Linked DNA regions of Homo sapiens: region 1 is linked to region 2. Evidence: promoter capture Hi-C in 16 types of primary human blood cells and fetal thymus (Javierre and others, 2016). All regions are on one chromosome and are shown on one strand. The core of a region is centred on a gene start or on the middle of the fragment in contact, and the rest is flanking DNA. Distances in the headings are between cores, read along the strand shown. Region 1 overlaps UCK2 (uridine-cytidine kinase 2). Region 2 holds the start of POU2F1 (POU class 2 homeobox 1).

Region 1 (2,900 bases), core at 28-2,527, 1.4 Mb after region 2:
GACCACAGTCAAAATCCCATACCCATAGGAATTCAATACCTGTAGGAATCCAGGGACATTAAATAAATTTTAAAATGTTGTGGTTTTTTAGAGACAAAGTCTCACTCTACTGCCAATGTTGGAGCACAGTGGCACAATCATAGCTCACTGTAACCTCAAACTACTGGGCTCAAGTGATCCTCCCACCTCAGTCTCTAGAGTAGCTAGCTAGGCCACAGGTGCCACACTCAGCTAATTTTTTTTACTTTCTTTTTTAATTTTCTGTAGAGACAAGATCTCACTGTGTTGCTCAGGCTGGTCTGGAACTCCTGGGCTCAAGTGATCATCCCACCTCGGCCTCCCAAAGCACTGGAATTACAAGCATGAGCCACTGCACCTGGTCAACTTTCTTTGCAGGGCATGACAGCCAGTGAGAACGCACAGAATGCTGGGCACAGTGGCTCATACCTGTAACCCCAACACTTTCGGAGGCCGAGGCAGGAGGATCACTGGAGTACAGAGTTAGATATCAGCCTGGGCAAAAAAGTGAGACTCCATCTCTAAAAAGAATTTTAAAATTAGCTGGGCATGGTGGCACACTCCTATAGTACCAGCTACTCAGGAGGCTGAGGCAGGAGGATTGTTTGGGTCCAGCAAGTTGAGGCTGCAGTGAGCAGTGATCATGCCACTGCACTCCAGTCTGGGCAACAGAGCGAGACTGTGTCTCAATCAATCAATCAATGAACAAACAAACAGAAAACAGCAGCTGCTGTCTGCAGGAGCACCCCCTTCCCCAAAATACTGCTGATGAGACTTAAATATTTCCCAAATCTCAAGGAGACTGATATTTAGCTGATGTAAAACAACTCAGATCCAGTTAATTGTTACACAGCTAAAATAATGTCACACCTCAAGGGACATGCTCTCCAAAGAGTTGCGAAGAAAAAAAGTCTGTTTCCCAAGAGAGGTAACATTCATTTTATAAGTACTACATCTGTGCATAAATATATATTTGTAATTGAAAAGGAAAAGCTTTATGAGGAAAACAAATTACAGCAACTAACCTCTGAGGAAGAGTGCGCCAAGAAGATGTAGGAAAAAAACCAAAGTGCCTTTCCTACCCTCTACCGTGCACAGAATATTTCACCTCTGGTCACCAAAACGTATGGCGATTTCTCCCCACCAGCAACCAATCAATTCATCAGCAGACACCAGCTGGATGTCCTGTAATTCAATTCTGACACGATCTACCTGGAGAGAGCGCCAGATCCCACAGGCTGAGGGCTCAGTCCCCAAGACTGCCCCATACTTCAGATGCCAATGGCAGGTCCCAGGTTGTGACCTGTGCTTCTGACAGAGGTTTTTAAATCAGGGTTCTCATGACCCCTCCTCAGGTTCGATTAATTTGCTAGCTTGGCTCACTGAGCTCAAAGAAACACTTACTTATGTTTACCCATTTATTATAAAGGGAACAATTTATTATAAAGATTATAAAGGAAACACAGGAACAGCCAGATTAAAAAGACGCAAAGGGTGAGGCATGTGGGAAGGGTGCAAAGCTTCCACACCCTCTCGAGGCAGTCACCCTCCAGGAACCCCCACCTGTTCTGCTATCTGGATGCTCATTCAAACACTGTCCTTTTGGGTTTTTATGAAAACTTCGTTACATACGCATCATTGATCACAATGCTGTCATTAGTGATCAGCTCGACCTTCAGCCCCCCTCTCCCTCTCACCTCCCCAGAGGTCAGGGGCATGGGGCTGAAAGTTCTAACACCGTAATCACGCGGTTCGTTCCCTTAGCAACCAGCCACCATCCTGGCTATCCAGGAGCCCACCACAGTTATCTTGTTAGAACAAAAGATGCTCCTATCACCTGGGAAATTCTAAGGGATTTAGGAGCTCTGTTATCACCCAGGAAATTACAAAGGTTTGAGGGTGCTCTGTGTCAGGAACATATTAGAACAAGAGGTTCTCCTAGTGCCCCTATCCACAGGGTTTTAGGAGCTCTGTGCCAGGAATGAGGGGGCAGAGACCAAACACATATTTCTTATTATATCACAGTACCACAGGTGCTGAAGGATTTTATTTTTACTTCTTACTTGGAATACCTCGTGTTCATCCACACTGAATGTCAACTACGAGGAGGGAGCCGTTCTAGGTGCAGGCACTGCAGGAGAAGGCATACGTGCCCTTTCAGGCTTGCACTGAGACTCAATAGAGCAGAGTAGGTTTTTTGGACTCTGAAGCCAAGAGTTTAAATGCCAGCCCCACCTGGCACTCTATACACAGTGGGTACTTAACTCCTTGGTGCTACAGTCTTCCCATGTTGAAATTGGGGATAATTATAGTACCTTACCTGAAAGGGCTGTGAGAGGAAATAAAGGCATTAATACAAATAAAACACTTAGAATAGCACTCAGTATATAGTTAGTGCTCGGGAAGTATTAGCTATTACCAAAAGAAATACATTGAAAAGAGATAAACAATAAACACGTGCAAAATTATTTCAAATGGTATTAGTGATATAAGAAAAAAATAAGGCAGTGGAATCAAGAGAGTTGCAGTAGGCACTCCATTAGTATTAAATCAACATTTTACAAGAACATGTGTTACTTCTGATTAAGAATAAAAAGTGGCAAAGTATGATAAAGGTTGTTCTCCTGTTTTTTAGAGACAGGGTCTCTCCATCTGTCACCCTCAAACTCCTGGCCTCCACAGATCCTCCTACCTCAGCCTCTTGAGTAGCTCCTACTACAGGTGCATGCCACTGCACCTGGCTCATTACTTATTTTTTGTAGAGATGGGGGGTTCTACTATGTTGACAGGCTGGTATCAAACTCCTGGCCTCAAGTGATCCTCCTGCCTTGACCTCCCAAAGTGCTGGGATTACAGGCATTGAGTCATCAGGCATTGAGTCA
Region 2 (3,141 bases), core at 522-3,021:
GTGTGTGGAAGTTGGTGGAGGTAGTCATTTTGGTTATTAGTAAATAAATCAAGCAGCAGAGAACATGAGGCCTAGGCAACTGCTAGAGAAGCCAAGGCCCAGCTTCCCCCCTCTCTTCCCAGCACGGCCTGGGTTTGATCTCAGAGCCCTGCGGATTGCCAAGGAAAAAAAAAATCATATCGAACCACAAAAGCACATGGGGCGAATGTAAAATATAAACACGGCGTTGGGCTGTGAGTGGCTGTTATTAAAGGTCTGAATTACTAAACATGAGAGGCGGGGAAAGCCAGGCGGCCATTTCAATAATATAAACCTCCCCGAATTAGACATTATTCAAATGAGAAGAGGTTCAGCTAAGCAGAGAGTAAAGACGACCCAGCACACAGCGAGAAAACACCGCCACAGAAGAAGGGAGGGGGATCCCCGTCCCTCCCCACCGACTCCCAACAGGAGAGAGGAAATCGAGAATACGATCAACTTGTCAGGCCAGCCCATTCTGGGGCAGGAGGGCAGCCCTTTACATCCAAGTTCTCGGGAGGCCTCTGGGCGCTTCTGGGGCCTCGGAGCGAGAGGCCCCGGAGGGCCACCCGCCCCGTGCGTCCCGGTCAGGCGCAGGGGGTGGGGGGAACGGAGGGGGGGCAGCGGGGAGGGGCAAAGGGAGACGGAGGTCAGACCACGCCAGGCACCTCCAGCCCAACTCGCCCGCGAAGCCCCGGCCGACAACGCAAAGGGGCTGCCGACCGCCGGCCGGGGGCGCGCGGGCCGCCCCAGAGGACATCCCCTCGGAAGGAACTTGCCCCAAGGACTCCTTCCAATCCAGTCCACCCCCCAGGGGGGGCACGCAGACCCCTGCGCGGGTTCCCCACCCCCGCCGCCCCAGGCCACCTCGCAGCGCCCACGACCGCTCACCCCTACCCACCTAGAGAGCAGGCCTGGCTTGGGTCAGGCCACCACATTGGGGACCAGTGGGGCGAGGCCGAAGTGCCTGGGGCCGTGACCCCCGGGCTCAGCCCCGCGCGGGGCGCGGGCAGGGAGCTCTCCCCGCGCGCACCCCCGGTTGCCCTGAGGGCCGCCCCCCAAGGCGGGCAGCGCCCCCCCGCCCGGGCCCGCTCCCGGGGGAAGACGCGTGCGGGTGTCCGGCCGCCGGGGTCCGCTCCGGCCCCGCCGCCTCCCCGGCATTGTGCTCGCCGCCGCCTCCATCCCCCTTCACGCCCCCCACCCCGCGCCCGCCCGGCCCCGGCCGCCCGCCCGCGCCCTACTGCGCCCCGCCGGCCCAGCAGCTATGAATATGTAAAATGTCTTTATTGTCCTCTCCCTCTGCCCCGGCCCCGCCGCCCCGCCGCGGACCCGCTCGGGTTCGGGCACGGCGGCGAGGAGGCGGCAGCGGCGGCCGGCAGAGGAGGAGGGCCGGTGCCGACGGGCAGACGGCGAGCGGCGGCGGGGTGGGCCGGGTGCAGGAGGAGGGCAGTGGATCGCAGCCCCCTTTGCCCCTTGTCTTCCCCCTCCGCCTGGCCGCTCCGAGCCTCTTTCCCCCTCCGCTCAGCGCCCGGCGGGGGCTCAATGCTCCCCGGCCCCCCATCTCCCCGCCGTTAATTATAATAATCCTGAGTACTAATAAATTATGCTAAGTCGCGGGGGGGGGCAGCGGGAGCCGGGGTTGAGTATGAATATGAATATGTAAAATGCTGTAATGATTACCTGCTGCTGCTGCCGCCGCGGCTGAACTCTCATCTTGACTCGCTGCTCCTCCGTCCGCCATTTTGAATATTTTAACCAAAATCGCCCGGTCGATAAACCCTCCCTCGCTCTGGCTCCCCTCCCCCCTCCCGCCCTGCTTGCCTCCTCCCTCCTCTCCGCCCCCTCCCGCTCCTTCCTCTCCCCGGGCGCGCGCCAGGGGGCGCGCGAGGCCGGCTCTGTTCGCCCCGGCCCCCTCAGAAGAGCTCCACCCCCTTCCCGCGCTCTGCGCACGCGCCTTCGGGGCGCTGTGGCCCTTCGGTAGCTAAAGCAGCGCCCTCAATCAGCCAGGCACCCTGTGGCTTCATTTTTCGTCTCGGCTCTGCGCATGCGCGCCTTTCTCCTGCCGCCAGAAGTGTCGCCGGCGCATGCGCTCCCTCTAGCTCAGAACCAGATTATATAGTATCCCGGGCGCCTGTGTCTTCTTACACTTCTCCCTTTTCCTCCCGCCTTGCTTCCCTCCTGGCTTCGCTCCGGTCTCCCCCAGTGGCCTGTGGCATTGTAAAAGCACGGCAAGGAGCGCAGCGGCCAGAAACGTGGGGGCGCGTGGAAGGGCAGTGAGCGGCCCGCGTGCCCTGTGCTCCGCACTTTCTTCAGGGTTTCCGCGCAGTTGAAACATTGGCAACAATGGATAAGCCGCTCCTCGCTAGGTAATTTCCGGCCCTCTGGGCAGGTAGGGGCGGAAACGACCGCCACGGGAGCCGGGCATGAGGCACCTGCTGAGCCACACGCGGGCCTCCCGCTTTAAATTTGAATCCGAGCTAATCCCCGCCCCCGGCTCTGCTAGTGCAGGAGACCCGGCCCCGGCAAACGCGAGGGGGAGTGTCGTGTGATTGTTTTAATTAGCCCTAAATCTCTTCTGCTCTACTTGCTTCTAACGCCAGGCTGGCTTCCTCGGGAGCTAGGCGTCTTATTAAGTCGCTAATTTCCGCCCTACCCTTCCTTTCTGCCTTCACGCCCCTCTAACGCCGCTCCCCCCAATCGAAACAGACCCCATATTCTGAGGCTTCCCCCCGCGCCTTCTTCCCGCCTTGGAACACCTTTTAAAACCTAGCAGTAAGCTGATGACTAATAAAAATGTCGAAATCGTAACTTCATCGTGAATTTTATTTTGCTGTGTTTCTCAGAGTAAATATGGTATTGGGGAAAGGTTTCGCGTTGCACATATCTTTCTTGGTAACTAGACATAATGTTGCTGAGTTTTCTTTATCTTAAATGGCGAAATTCCCTGGACAAAGTCCCAGGTCTAATTATTTTACGAATTTTTAAAGCCCTATTTTTGTTTGTTTGTTTGTTTTTTAAGAATAGAAAGGTGTATTTCATGGTAAGCAAAGTTTAAAAAAAATCAGCTCTAGTTAATCTGTCTTGAGAGATATGACTGAAGTTTAAATTGGGTAGAACTGCTGG

The links. Contacts are between HindIII fragments. The CHiCAGO score rates a contact against its expected background, and 5 or more counts as called.
Region 1: a contact is called between a fragment that was not itself captured here and the fragment with the promoter of POU2F1 in region 2, in 1 of 17 cell types (erythroblasts). The highest score is 5.1, in erythroblasts.

What each region holds. Positions count from the first base shown.
Region 1 is chr1:165,843,492-165,846,391 of GRCh38, reverse strand. The region is part of intron 1 of UCK2 (uridine-cytidine kinase 2); the gene reads right to left. Among named protein-coding and RNA genes, the nearest start is that of UCK2, 17 kb to the right of the region's middle. The HindIII fragment of the contact is 527 bases long and covers 1,014-1,540 here.
Region 2 is chr1:167,219,516-167,222,656 of GRCh38, reverse strand. POU2F1 (POU class 2 homeobox 1) reads right to left here and starts at 1,771. Exons shown (of 16, transcript NM_002697.4): 1 at 1,699-1,771. The coding sequence starts at 1,759. It overlaps POU2F1-DT (POU2F1 divergent transcript), which reads left to right and starts at 2,121. Exons shown (of 1, transcript NR_185889.1): 1 at 2,121-2,826. RefSeq lists enhancers at 369-548, 2,079-2,188 and silencers at 609-788, 799-1,078, 1,299-1,448, 1,799-1,898. The HindIII fragment of the contact is 11,517 bases long and covers 1-3,141 here.